2 separate regions of the Homo sapiens genome follow, and region 2 is linked to region 1. Evidence: promoter capture Hi-C in 16 types of primary human blood cells and fetal thymus (Javierre and others, 2016). All regions are on one chromosome and are shown on one strand. The core of a region is centred on a gene start or on the middle of the fragment in contact, and the rest is flanking DNA. Distances in the headings are between cores, read along the strand shown.

The links. Contacts are between HindIII fragments. The CHiCAGO score rates a contact against its expected background, and 5 or more counts as called.
Region 2: a fragment that was not itself captured here is called in contact with the fragment with the promoter of CIBAR1-DT in region 1 in 3 of 17 cell types (M0 macrophages, M1 macrophages and M2 macrophages); the score reaches 9.8 in M0 macrophages.

The regions. Positions count from the first base shown.
Region 1 is chr8:93,697,033-93,704,160 of GRCh38, forward strand. CIBAR1-DT (CIBAR1 divergent transcript) reads right to left here and starts at 3,401. Exons shown (of 11, transcript NR_033858.1): 1 at 2,904-3,401. CIBAR1 (CBY1 interacting BAR domain containing 1) reads left to right here and starts at 3,518. Exons shown (of 9, transcript NM_145269.5): 1 at 3,518-3,641; 2 at 4,192-4,426; 3 at 6,588-6,656. The coding sequence starts at 3,616. RefSeq lists enhancers at 3,037-3,116, 3,146-3,770 and silencers at 3,337-3,386, 3,417-3,556, 3,747-3,866. The HindIII fragment of the contact is 5,458 bases long and covers 685-6,142 here.
Region 2 is chr8:94,363,424-94,370,551 of GRCh38, forward strand. No RefSeq gene overlaps it. Among named protein-coding and RNA genes, the nearest start is that of FSBP, 70 kb to the right of the region's middle. The HindIII fragment of the contact is 5,452 bases long and covers 75-5,526 here.

The DNA.
Region 1 (7,128 bases), core at 2,151-4,650:
CTCTAAAGAACCTTGACTAATACAAGAACCAATCTCTACACTCCTTAGCATGGCCAAAATGCCCTATACGACCTGGTTTCCATCTACCCCTCCAACTAAATCTCAGACAGAACATGATGCCACCTCCTCCACTCCACCCTCATCAGCTTTCTTCCATGTCCTCACACATACTGTGTTTCCTCTGTCATGGGGTTTTCACTCATTTATTTATTTATTCATTGATAAACTCAACTAATTATTGAATTTCTACTATGAGTCAAGCACTGAGGTTGTACTGGGAATATAAAGTGAACAGGTAACAATGTGGCTAGTTTCATGGAGAATATGTTCTAGTCACAGAAGACAGAAATAGATCTACAGCCATACCTGAACATGCCTGATCTTGGAAGCTAAGTGAGGTCCAGCCCGGTTAGTACGTGGATGGGAGAAGACAGAAATAGCATGTAAATAAACAGGTTAATTTCAGGACGTGACATGTGCTTCAAAGGAAACAAAACAGGGTGAAAGAATCATTTGGTGATCAGAGAAAGCCCCACTCATAGGTGTTTTTTAAGTACAATTTTATATGAAGGGGCCATCCATGTGAGGACTTGAAGAAGGAGCATTCCAGGCAGAGAGAATTACAAACACAGAACTAACTGTGAGATAAGTTTATCTATAGATAAACACAGAGAGAGAGAGAGAAGCTTATATACATATATATGTGTGTGTGTGTGTGTGTATATATATATACACACACACACACACACACACACACATATGGCATGTGTCTATAGCACAGTGGGGCAGCAAGAGAAGGTAGATAGGTAAGCGGAAATGAGATAAAGCCTTAATAGCCAGAATAGGATTTAAATTTTTATTTGAAGCACACTGAGAGGCTTTGGAGGGTTGACATCATCTGATTTAATGTTTGATTTCACACTGCGATGTTTAACAGTGGACATGGGGAGACTAGTAAGGGAGGTTTGCAGTAAGGATGATTGGTGGTAGCAGTTTGGATTATGGGGATGTAGAAAAAAATGAAGAATGATTCAGGATATATTTTGGAGATGGAACAGATAGGAATTGCCCATGTGACTGGAGAAAAGAAAGGGTAACTCCTAAGTTTTTGACTTGAACAATCAACTGGGCAATAGCATCATTTTCTGAGATATGAAATTCTGGGTAGAGATGGGAATGGGGCTGGGGGAGGGCAAGGGGACAAACTGCTCATACTGTCCTTCTCTTGGGACTGTTTTTCACTCCCTCTTCACCTAGTTGACTCCTTCCTATTCTTTGGATCTCAGCTCAAATGTCACTTTCTCAATGAAGTCCTTCCCTGATGAGTTCAAACCAAACCTCTATATTAAGTATACACTCAATTGCTGCCATGTAGTTTCCCCTAATAGTAGACTGGAAAAGTAGCCACCAATTCCTCTACCAACCACACCATCCGTAACATTTCCACTGCCCTCTCACTCTGATCCCTCTAGTCTAGGCCACATGGCTTGCATCCGCCAATAGTGTATCAGCAAACATAACATAGGCAGAGACTTGAAAGGCACTTGTGCAGTTGACTTGTCCTGCTCCACTGTTTTGGAACTCTGAAACCATGGAAAGAAGCCTGGCTGAGGTGCTAGACAATAAGAAACACGTGGCCCCTGCTGACGACCTGCCAATGCCGTGACACAGAAGTGAGGCCTCTTAGATCATCCAGCCGCCAGCTGACCAGAAAGGTGAGTAAGAGCCCAGCTGAGCAGAACCAAGGTAAAAGAACCACCCAGCTCACTCAGAATCCCAAGCTAACCAAACGATTGTAAAACGTCACTAAGTTTTGTGGTGATTTGTTACACTGCAAAAGTGGATACAGTAGCACATACCTCAGTGGCAATTTTACACATCTTTGATTAGCTTCTATCACTGCCACATAACTGTGAGCTCTCTAAAAGCACAGACTATTCTGACCTTAGGTTACTGTGCCAACCTCAAAGCCAAGCATAATACCTGGAACACACCAGGCATCCAACCAATAACATGCTGAGCGAATGCAAGGAGCAAAGAGAGATACACATTGTAACACAAGCGAATAGGGGAAGTTCAAAACAAAGGACTGAGGACATCTATTTGTACAAAATAAAAACTTTTAATCAGCAGCACACGGCAGCGAGGAATACAAGACCAAAATCACATTTAATCTGTCTCAAAGGGTTCAAAGTCTAGGGTACAGGAGGCAGTACAAAATCAACGAAGTGTACTGTTTGAGCATTCCAACACTTCGCTCCTTCAGACAGTATTAGGACCCCGTCCCAAAGCGTTAGGACAAGGCCCTAACGCTGCCTGAAAAAGTGAAGTGACGGAGGATCCCAGAGAGGTTTCTTGAAGCAGATAAAGTCTGAATTGAGGCCGGGCCCGGTGGCTCACGCCTGGAATCCCAGCACTTTGGGAGGCTGAAGGGGGGCGGATCACTTGAGGCCAAGAGTTCAAGACCAGCCTGGCCAACATGGCGAAACCCCGTCTCTACTAAAAATACAAAAAATCAGGCCAGCATAGTGGTGCACGCCTGTAATCCCAGCTATTTGAGAGCCTGAGGCAGGAGAATCGCTTGAACCCAGGAGGCGGAGGTTGCAGTGAGCCGAGATTGTGCCACTACACTCCAGCCTGGGCAACAGAGCGAGACTCCATCTAAAATACATATATAAATAAACAAAGTCTGAATAGAGTCCTTGCAGTATTTACTGGGAAAAGCAGCACACGCAAGGCCAGGAGGGTCAAAGGGACAGAGGCGTTCAAAGGACAAAGGAGAGCCTCCTGTTTGTTTGGGGTTTTATTCTTTTTGAATTTTTGTTCCCCCAGGCCAACTCTAAGAGCCAGAACTGTTCGTTATTTATCTCAGCACAGGTTCGGTGTAAGCGTTGCCTCCTTACCCGACGCTCAGGCCCTTCAGGTCCGGGACCCCTGCTTCTTAATTATGTTTCTATTACTCCCAGTGTCTAACACAATCTCTTCCACGAAGTCGGAACTTGATACATATTTGCTGAATAAACGAAAAGTTAAAGATGAGGCAGAAAGCACAGCTCCTTCCAAGGGCAGCTCTCAAGAGCCCACGTTTTCAGATTCAGCAGTGAAGCGGACGCGTCTGGTACGAGACTACAAGTCGCACAGGCGGAGAGGGGGCCCCCGGGCCTCTGGTTTCACGTCTCCCTCCTGGTCCCCGGCGGACCGGCGTCTTTTCTCCCCTGCTCGGAGTAGCCTAGCAGCGCTGGAGGCTGGCTGTCTGGTAAGCGCGGCTGTTAGAGAGGATGGAGGCGCCGTAGCCCCGCGGTGCTTCTCACAGCCTTCGCCGGCAGGGACGCGCGGGACAACCGCGCAGGCGGCTCTGCAGGGGTGGGCGCGCCATCACCCCTCTCGGTCCCTGCCTGCTTGGCGCTTTCCGAGCCCCAGCCGCGCTCAGGCTGCCTCGGGCATTGACCGCGGGGGCGCGCGCCCCGTTTCCATAGAAACGCCCGGCCTGCCGCGGCGGCGCGAGGGGCGGGCTTTCAGGCTCCCGGCGGCTGCTTGCGCCCCAGCGCGCGCCCAGGCGCCTTGGAATCCCCGTCCTTGGGCCCCCGCAAGGTCCCCGGCCGTGCGCGAGGCAGCATGATGAGGCGCACCCTGGAAAACCGGTAACAGCCCGAGCCCAGCTGCCCAGGGCCGCCCACACTGGAGGGCTGGGGTGAGGGAAGTGGAAGCCTCTGTCCATGGGGCCTCTGCGCCGAATTCCGACCCTGAGTGGGAGGCTGCACGGTCCCCGCTGTGACCTGGGGCCTAATTCCTTGGGCTGCAGCCACCGCCGGCGGCGAAGAGGAGCCCGGGGCCCGGCCGGCTGCCACCCACCCACGCCACCGGGTCTCGGGTCCCCACACTGCCGCGGGCAGTGCGGAAGCCTAGGAGGCAGCCGGGCGCCCAGGCCGCGCTGCGCGGAGCAGCCGGAGCAGCCACCTCCCCAGTTAAGGCCAGGCCCACCCGGCCTGGGCCTTTTCCTGTGCCTACACAGTCCGGATAGTGAGGTCAGGACCCCATGGAGAGCAGTCCGCGCCGGGAGACGCTGGGTCGTTGATGGGTTTACGCCTTCAAAGCTGCAGAATGCCCGGGGAATGTTTGCATGTTAAATTAACGTGAAGCCTTCTCATCTCTAACGAGAATGTTTTGCCTTTTGTGTCACCTTTTCCCTAGGAACGCTCAAACGAAACAACTGCAAACAGCTGTCTCAAATGTGGAGAAGCATTTTGGAGAACTGTGCCAAATCTTCGCTGCCTATGTGCGGAAAACTGCCAGGCTGAGAGACAAAGCAGACCTCCTGGTGAATGAAATTAACGCGTATGCTGCTACAGAGACCCCGCATTTAAAGCTGGGCCTGATGAACTTTGCAGATGAGTTTGCCAAACTTCAGGATTATCGACAAGCAGAGGTATGGAGTGAGATCACAGTGTCATTGTTATGAATGAGCCATGAAGTAGTGGATGAAGGAACCGTGGAAACTTTCACTTGTAATCTACCTAACTGCAGAGGTGGATGCAAACTTGATAAAACGTACATTTTCATAAGACTGTGTGAGTCTATTAAAGAGAAGCGTTCTGTGTTTTATTTTACCCTTTTCAAGCTAACCTTTAGGGCATCTTGAGGTCTTGAATTTCCCCACTTTATTTGCCAACTTTTGGCCAAGGGGTGGCTGTTTACTGGGGGTAGTGGGAATAGTACCCAGGGGGAAGAAAATAAGCATAACTTAATGTCTTGTGTGGCACATAAGTACGTTTTAAAGAATGACTGGAGATGGAAATGTTGGGAATGGTAATGTGGATGGATAAATTATTAATAAATGGGTAAGACATCATTGCTGCATCCATGGTTTGGAAAATTGACCAATGGTTTACTAACAACAACAAAATGCTATGAATTGTATCATGGAAGCAAACCAATACTGAGACACCGTGTGGACTTTTTGCTCTGGGTAGCAGGAGAAGTGTCCTTGTGATTGTTTTCTTTCTAAAAGCCCATATTTTTCCTTTAAATACTTAATAAGCACTTTTACTTGTATTTATTTTCAGTTTCACGGCATAGGTTAACTTATCAGAAGTTGCCCAGTTAGAACTGCGTTGCTTTTTTATACTTTTCAGAACCTAAAACGGGAATTTCAATTTTCAAAAAACAGAATGAGTATAAAAAAAATTGAACTCATCATTGCTATCCATACAAATTTGAAGAGTAATCATATTTGGAGGTACTTTTGGAAAAATGTGGAGTTCTTGTCATGAAACTTCTGTAATAAACAAGTAACTCTCAATTATATATGATAACTGGGGACTTAATGTTTCAAAGATAATTTATATTCACAGGTAATCCTAAAATCTTATTTTAGCCAATAATTTCAATGCCCCTTTGTAGAAAACCTTTGTGCTATTTATCAAATAGCAAAGTGAATTGATTTGCATTTGTTCTCCTTTTATTTCCCTTGCTTACCAAATGGTGGAGGTCCTAATGAACAATGACAAAAAGGTAGGCAACAAAAAGGAGAACAGAAAAAAGACTTAGATAATCCTTAAACTGAATAATCAGTATGGATTATAAGAAATGGTGTAAAGCAAACTGTCCTGAATATCCATGATTTTAGGATTCCTAATATTTGAATACTTGATGAGAAGTCGATTTTTATTTTCCTAACATGTTTTAAAATGAAACATTCATATACATTTCATTTACAGAAACTAAAGAAAAATCAATATGAAATTAAGTGTATTTGTCAATTATATAAATATGTATCATTAAAAAGCCCTTTTCCTGCTATTAAAAAATGTTCATTTTAAGCAATTGAATACATCACCTATCTTGAGAAAAAAAATTTTAATGTCCAAGAGTTATTTTTCTTATGCTATATTTAAATACTTGCCTTAAAAAAAATCTCTCTTCAGTGCCTTCCACTAGTACTACTTGTAAAAGAAGTAATTACTCAAAATGTGATTTAAAAACCTGTAACGTTTAAGAAAAACTATTTAATTCTAAATGAAACAGAGATGAAACATACAGTTTGACAGCTCAGCAACTCAGACCATTTATCTTGTTCTGTAGGCTTCGATAATTCACAAATGGCTTCTCAGAAAAAAAAATGCAGCAAATACAGTGATCTCTAAGCTTTTTTGCTTTTCAAGGTTATGTTGCTTTAAATGTTTCCAAGATGCTCTGTCTTTCAGCTTTGATTTTCTTTTCTGAAAAGTTGAGCTATTACAGTTCAGAGATAATATATGCAAAGTATCCATTACTGTGCTGAACACACTGAAAATGTTAGCTGTATTAAAATTTGAACTGTCTTAACACCCTTAAACTACTACTTTAAGGTAAAAAAGTAATCCTAAGATGATGATGTGGCCAGGATGAGCTCCTGGGAAACCTGAGACATTTTCTTGTCATTTTGCTCACCAGGTGCTTTTCTACTTTTACTATTACTGTGCAGCTTAACAGTTTTTAATGTGTTTTGAGTTTAGATTCTGAGTCTTATCAATTTCTAGTGATTAGCCTTTTATTTATAGGTTAAAATGTTAAACGTTCTAATTTAAAATTTTAATAATTTTCAATAGGTTGAAAGACTTGAAGCCAAAGTAGTTGAACCCTTGAAAACTTATGGGACCATTGTGAAAATGAAACGGGTAAGTAAATCCATTTTCTCACTTAACTGTGAGTTACTCTGGCAAAGACTATGAGGTTTCCAATTGTTTTTTTAAATAAGAAATACAAAGTAGTGGCCAAGAGTGGTGGCTCATGCCTGTAATCCCAACACTTTGGGAGGTCGAGGCGGGCGGATCACGAGGTCAGGAGTTTGAGACCAGCCTGGCCAACATAGTGAAACCCCGTCTCTACTAAAAATAAAAAAAATTAGCTGGGCATGGTGGCATGCACCTGTAATCCCAGCTACTCAGGAGGCCGAGGCAAGAAAATCGCTTGAACCCAGGAGGCAGAGGTTGCAGTGAGCTGAGATAGCGCCACTGCACTCCAGCACAGGCGACAGTGTGAGACTCTGTCTCAAAAAAAAAAAAAGAAAAGAAATACAAAGTAGTATATAGTCATTCTTTTTACTCTGAAAGATCACTTAGATCTTTAAGAATAATGAAATAGTTTTAA
Region 2 (7,128 bases), core at 1,551-4,050, 670 kb after region 1:
CAAGATCCTATCTCAAAAATAGCAACAATAAGAAAACAAAAAACACAAGCTTCTTCTGTGCCTCCGAACCCTGAAGCTTACCTGGGAAACATTTCCTCATGGGTAGGACAGAGCTCAGTATTAACAACCCACTTGGGTAACAGATGTAAAGCCAAGCCAATCAAGTAAGCTATTACCAAAAATGAAAGGGATATTTTGACCTCCATATGTACTTTTTGTTTCCCACCTTAACAAAGTATGAAAGCTGAAGGAATCCCAGAGCTGATGGCTCCCACTAATGGTGGTTTTCTACACACACTCAGTCTTGTCTCACATGACCACATGTATCCTCGGTACAGAGAGACTGAGACATTTGGAAGCCTAGCCTGGACTCATAAGAGTTCCACTCTGCTTTTGCAATCCATGCTTTCTCGTTGCCTGCTGTGTATGCTTTCTTAAAGATAAGTAAACCTAAAGCTGGATGCAGCCCACAGTGTCTTGTGACCTTGTGTTTTTGTCTTGTGAGTTGTCAGTTTGAGCAATCTGAGCAGAAAGGGTGGTCAATCAAATCAACTGCTTCAATTGTAAAATACCATGTCTATTGTTCTGTGAAAGGATAAACATAAGATTCAGATCTCATGAAATTCACACACCCTAATCCAAAACCCAATTCTTTAATTAATTCACTTGAAAAGAGAACATGATATGAAACACTCACATTAGTTCATTTTTCTTCTCACATATACATCTGTCTCAGGAACCTGGCATGGTGAAATCATAGAAAAGGCAGGACAGTGCACTGGAAAGAGCTTCAGATTTTGAGTTAAAAGAGGGGCTGGTGTTCAAGTTTCAGCTCTGTCACTGAATGATCTTGAATAATTATTTAATCTCTGTAAGCCTTAAATCTATAAAACGGAGATAATAGAGTATTTGCTCTGTTCAACTCTCAGCATTGTTGTGAGGAGCAAACCACTTATCTGTAAAGAGCTAAATAAATGTAGATTATCACATGTTTCAAGCACCTGATTTTCACGTGTTCATTTTGGTCTGCTTCAGAAAATCATTGATCCTATCTTATCTCATTTATTTATATTAGTCCATAATGGCTATACTGCATACATAATAAACAGAGGTTTATAAATACTAAACTTTTACTTAGCATCATTATATTTATGTAAGAGACAGAAGCATTAGATTGACATTCCTATAGATTTTCTTTAAACAAATGTAGCAGTTGTAATTTTGTTCCATTCAGATGCTAAACAATGGTATACATCTGTATTGGTCAGAATTGTCCAGAGATAAATAGATATATAGAGAGTTATTATGGGAATAGACTCGCATAATTATAGAAGGCAAGAAGTCCCAAAATCTGCTGTCCCAGTCTGAGTCTGAAGGCCTGAGAAGGGGATAAGGGGTTGCTATAGTCTGAATGTTTGTGTCCTTCCCAAATTCATGTTGAAACCATATTACCAATGTGATATTAGGAGGTGGGGTCTTGGGGAGGTGATCAGGTCATGAGGGCAGAGTCCTCATGAATGGAATTAATGCCTTTATAAAAGAGGCCCAAGAGAGACTCCTTGTCCCTTCCACCATGTGAGGTAACAGCTACACAGTGCTATCTATGAAACAGAGAGCAGGCCCTCACCAGACACTGGCTCTGCTGGTGCCTTGTTCGTGGACTACCCCCGCTCCAGAACTGTAAGAAACAAATTTCTGTTGTTTATGAGCTATCCAGTTTATGGTATTTTGCTATAGCACCTCAAATGGACAAAGACACGGGTGATAGTGTAAGTCCCAGTCTGAGTTCAAAGGCCTGAGAACTAGGAGCTCCGATGTCAGAGGGTAGGAGAAGATGGATGTTCCAGCTCAAACAGAAAGTAAATTTACCCTCCCTGCCTTTTCGCTCTATTCAGGTCCTCAAAAGATTGGATGATACAAACCAATGTTGATAAAGCAAATCTCTTCTATAGGTAAAGGCTAGTCTCTTCTAGAAACACTCTCGCAGACACATCCAGAAATAAATACTCAGGAAGGATTTTAACTCCCAATTTCAAATTCTAACTTGATCTATAATTACTATATAAACTATGCATACCTCCAGAGATGAAATTTTTAATAATAAAACAGGGAATGGGTACAGTGGCTCACACCTGTAATACCAATATTTTGGGAGGCAGAGGCAGGAGTTTGAGACCAACCTAGGCAACACAGCACGATCCCATCTCTACTTCAAAAAAAAAAAGGAATACGTGAAAATAAATACATTGCAGGTACAAAGGATTTTTTTTTTTTTTTTTAAACAGAGTCTTGCTCTGTAGCCCAGGCTGGAGTGCAGTGGCACAATCTCGGCTCACTGCAACCTCTGCCTCCCGGGTTCAAGCGATTCTCCTGCCTCAGCCTCCCAAGTAGCTGGGACTACAGGCACGTGCCACCACGTCCAGCTAATTTTTGTATTTTTAGTAGAGATGGGGTTTCACCATGTTGGCCAGGATGGTCTCGATCTCTTGACCTTGTGATCTGCCCACCTCGGCTCCCAAAGTGCTGGGATTACAGGTGTGAGCCACCGTGCCCGGCCAGAATTTATGCTGTAGACATTTATGATGTTATATTTTTTTTAACTACTCAAAAAAAGTCTTCAGTATTTTGTTGACATTTCCTCAAAAAATAAAAATAAAGGAATTGTTAATTTTGGTCTACTTTGGAATTTTATTATCTTCTTACTCACAAAAAATAATTTTTAATAAATCTAAAAAAATTGTAAAGATTAAATCACACTGAACACTTCAGGTTTTCAAGTAAGTGTAACAAATTCCAATAAACTATTGTCTGTCAATAAGGTACTTTTTTTTTTTTTACAGTTTTTACATCATAAAAGCTGTATTCTGAATTGGTATTGGTTTTGTGAACACAGTATCTTAGGGATAGAAATTTGTAATGGTTTGAAGCAAAGATCACAGGTTAGCTATAGAAAAGTGCCACAGGAAACTGGTCTAAACCAAAAACATGTTTTTATCATACAAGGTAAGACAAAATAATATCCCTTTCTATCAAGTCATGTTGAAGCCTTCCTTGAATACCAAAATAGCATATCTACAAATCCCTCTAGGATACAATATATTAATTTGGGAACAATTCAGAAAAACAAAGCCATAAGCTAATTATACATATTGTTTGCTGTGAGTCACAGTCAAAATTTTAATCTTGCCACATAATATTAGGACACAGTTGCTCAGGCAATGTGACTGTAGGCCATAATTGAGCCACTCAAATGAAATGCCAGCCAGATTTTTTTCACTTGCTCCTTTGTCATACACCCTTTTAAATGGATGGATAGGCTGTCTAGGAGTTTAGTTCTGCAGATCAGAGCTGCTCATGTTTAAATTCAGCTTTAGTAATTCAATCCTAATGAAAACGTGACTGAAATGTATTTGCATTGTCGTTTAGAACCAGAACATTATGACATAAAGCTGTGTGAAAGGTGTATTTGTGTAATTAGAAATGAATTATGTATGTGACTTAAATTATTACCCATTGCAGTGACAGCTTCTGTCAGCTCATGCAGCAGATTGACAGATCGCAATAACAAAAAGGGAAGTCTGGATGCTGTCAGAGGCAAGAAGAAACTGCTGCCTCTGCTTTCTTCAGTGTTGAGCACAGCTCCATGCTCAGCAGTTGGCGTAAATAAATACCTTGAAACTGAGATCTATGAGCAAGAAACATGATCAAGGTGGTTAAAGAAGTAAAAGAGGTAAAGTACCTCATTCATTCATTCAATTACTAAATAGCTATTCTATGCCAGGTCCCATACAAGGTCCTGAGAATATTAGGGTAAGTAAGATTAAATCCCCATCCTCAAAGGAGTCCACCAAGAGAGAGAGGGAGAGCATGCGACCACATGAGCATATGGACTGGGAACATAGAGAAAGGGAAAATTCTTATAAACAGCACCTCTCACGCAAAAGCTGCTTTATACGTGCAAACCAGGTGTTAAGGTCCCTTAACATGTGGATAAAATGAGTCTATACCCCCACAAATGCCTGGCTTGTCAAAGTCCAAAGTCTTCATCAATTCCCAGAGGGCTATCTTCTGTACTTCTCAGCCTCTGAGATCCCATGCCACATATGCTACCTTTATTCCATGTCACATGGGTTCTCCCATGAAATTCAGCCTCTTCTGAAATTTCTACTGCAAAATCACTCTCATGCAGGATACTGGAAGATTTCAGAGTGAGGCAGAGAAATGGATGGAAGGTTACTTCCCACACTACTTGGCAAACAAACAACTTTATGAAGAACAATAGGTATCCACTATAAAAACAGGGCCCAGCACCCTTACCTAAGGAGCTGAAATGTTCCTTTTGACAGATTTGTCTTGAATTGAGATAAGGGTGCTGGGCCTTTCTACCCAGCATCCACCAGTCTCAAATGTTGGCCAACCAGGGGAGGAGCATAATCTTGGGTGAGGCAGATCCTCTCAGCTGAGGGCTATTCTTGGGGAAGAATTTGGCTATAAGTGGCCCACAGGTGATGCTTCTGGCAGCTGGAGAAACAAGCGCCTTGGTTCTGAAAGGGGCAATCTGGGCAGCACACCCTTGCATACACCACAGTTAAGACAGGCAGCAGTTGCAGAGTGGCTGGAACTATGTGAATAAAATAAATACATACATACATACATACATACATACATACATACATACATAAATTTTTGTTTAAAAAGACAGGCAGAATTACCTGCCCTTTATCAATGTTTTTTAAGTACTTTATGCCTGAAAAGGATACGATGCAAGATAGATATTGAAAGTTTAGTTCAGTCCAGCAACATAGTGAGACCCTATCTCTTAAAAAAAAAAAAAAGTTGTATATAAAGCCTCATGCATGAAGTCTATATACATGGGGCCAAGAAATACCATTTTTACTTATTACTAGTTGGCTACTTCCTCACTGACGAATTTGGTCCCAAACTGCCTGTTCATGAATCCTAGATGTACAGCTAGCTACCCAGGTATGGCACTAACAAATTAAAAGAATTCATCCTTGATTATACATAACTGAGTATTTAACACCTCAAGACAATACAGGTATACCCCATTTTGTTGTGCTTCCCAGATATTGTGATTTTTTTAAATTGAAGGTTTCTGACAACCCTGCATCAAGCAAATGAGTGACACTTTTCCCCAAAACATGCTCACTTCATGTCTGTGTCACATTTTAGTAATTCTTGCAATATTTCAAACTTTTACATTATTATATGTTAGGGTTATCTGTAATCAGTGATCTTTGATGTTACTATTGTAACTGTTTTGATGTACCATAACTTATGCCCATGTAAGATAGCAATCTTAATCAATAAATGTTGTGTGTGTTCTGACTGCTCCACCAACTGTTGGTTACCCCATCTCTCTCCCTCTCCTTGGGCCTCCCTATTCCCTGAGACATAACGATACTGAAATTCGGCTAATTAATAATCCTGCAATGGCCACTAAGTGTTCAAGTGAAAGGAAAAGTCATATATTTTTCACCTTAAGTCAAAAGCTAGACAGAATTAAGCTTAGTGAGGAAGGCATGTTGAAAGCCAAGACAGGCTGGAAGCTAGGACTCTTGCATTAGTTAGCCAAGTTCTGAATGCAAAGAAAAAGCTCTTAAAGGAAATTACAAGGGAACACACAAATGGTAAGTGAAGCAGCTTTATTGCTGATATGGAGAAAGTGTTAATGGCCTGGAAAGAAGTTCAAACCAGGCACAATATTCCCAAAGCCTAATCCAGAGCAAGGCCCTAAATCTCTTCAGTTCCATGAAGGCTGAGAGAGGTGAGGAGGCTGCAGAAGAGTTTGAAGCTAGCATAATATTTAAGGAAAGAAGCTGTCTCCACATCATATAAGTGTAAGGTGAACAGCAAGTGCTGATGGATAAGCTGCAGCAAGTTATCCAGAAGATCTAGCTAAGATCATTGATGAAGGTGGCTACACTAAACAACAGATTTTCAATGTAGAAGAAACAGCCTGCTATTGAAAGACGATGCCAGCTAGGACTTTCATAGCTAGAGAAGATAAGTCAATGTCTGACATCAAAGCTTTAAAGGACAGGCTGGCTCTGTTTGGGACTAATGCAGCTGGTAGCTTTAAGTTGAAACCACCTTCCAAAAATCCCAGGGCTCTTAAGAATTATGCTAAATCTACTTGCCTGTGCTCTAGAAATGAAACAACAAAGCCTGGGTTACTGAATATTTTAAGCTCACAGTTGCAACCTACTGCTCAGAATGAAAGATTTCTTTTAAAATATTACTGTTTATTGACAAAGCACCTAGTAATCCAATGGCTCTGATGGAGATGTACAAGGAGATCAATGTTGTTTTCATGCCTGTTAACACAACATCCATTTTGCAGTACATGGGTTAAGCAGTAATTTCGACTTTCAAGTCATATTATATAAGGATTGCATTGTGTAAAGCTAGCTATGACCATATAGACAGTGATTCCTCTGATGGATCTGAGCAAAATCAATGGAAGACCTTCTGGAAAAGATCCACCATTTGCAATTCATGGGAGGATGTCAATATAACAACATTAACAGGAGTTTGGAAGAAGTTAATTCCAATCCTCATAATTGACTTTGAGGAGTTCAAGATTTCAGTGGAGGAAGTAACTGTAAATGTGGTGGAATCAGCAAGAGAACTAGAATTAGAAGTGGAGCCTGAAGATTTGACTGAATTGCTGCAATCTCATGACCAAACTTGAGCAGATGAGGAGTTACTTCTTATGGGGGAGCAAAGAAAGTAGTTTCTTCAGATGGAATCTACTCCTGGTGAAGGTGCTGTGAACATTGTTGAAATTACCACAAATGATTTAGACTATTCCATAAACTTAGTTGATAAACCAGTGACAGGTTTCAAGAGGACTGGCTCCAATTTTGAAAGAGTTTTTACTGTGGGAAAAATACTATCAAATAGCATCGCACGCTACAGAGAAAGCTTTTGTGAAAGGAAGAGTCAATTGATGTGGCAAACGTTGCTGTCTTGTTTTCAGAAATTGTCACAGCCACCCCAACCCTCAGCAACCTTCACCAGGTTCCTGATCAGTCAGCAGTCATTGACATCAGTATAAGACCCTCTACCAGCAAAAAGATAACAGGCCGGGCATGGTGGCTCATG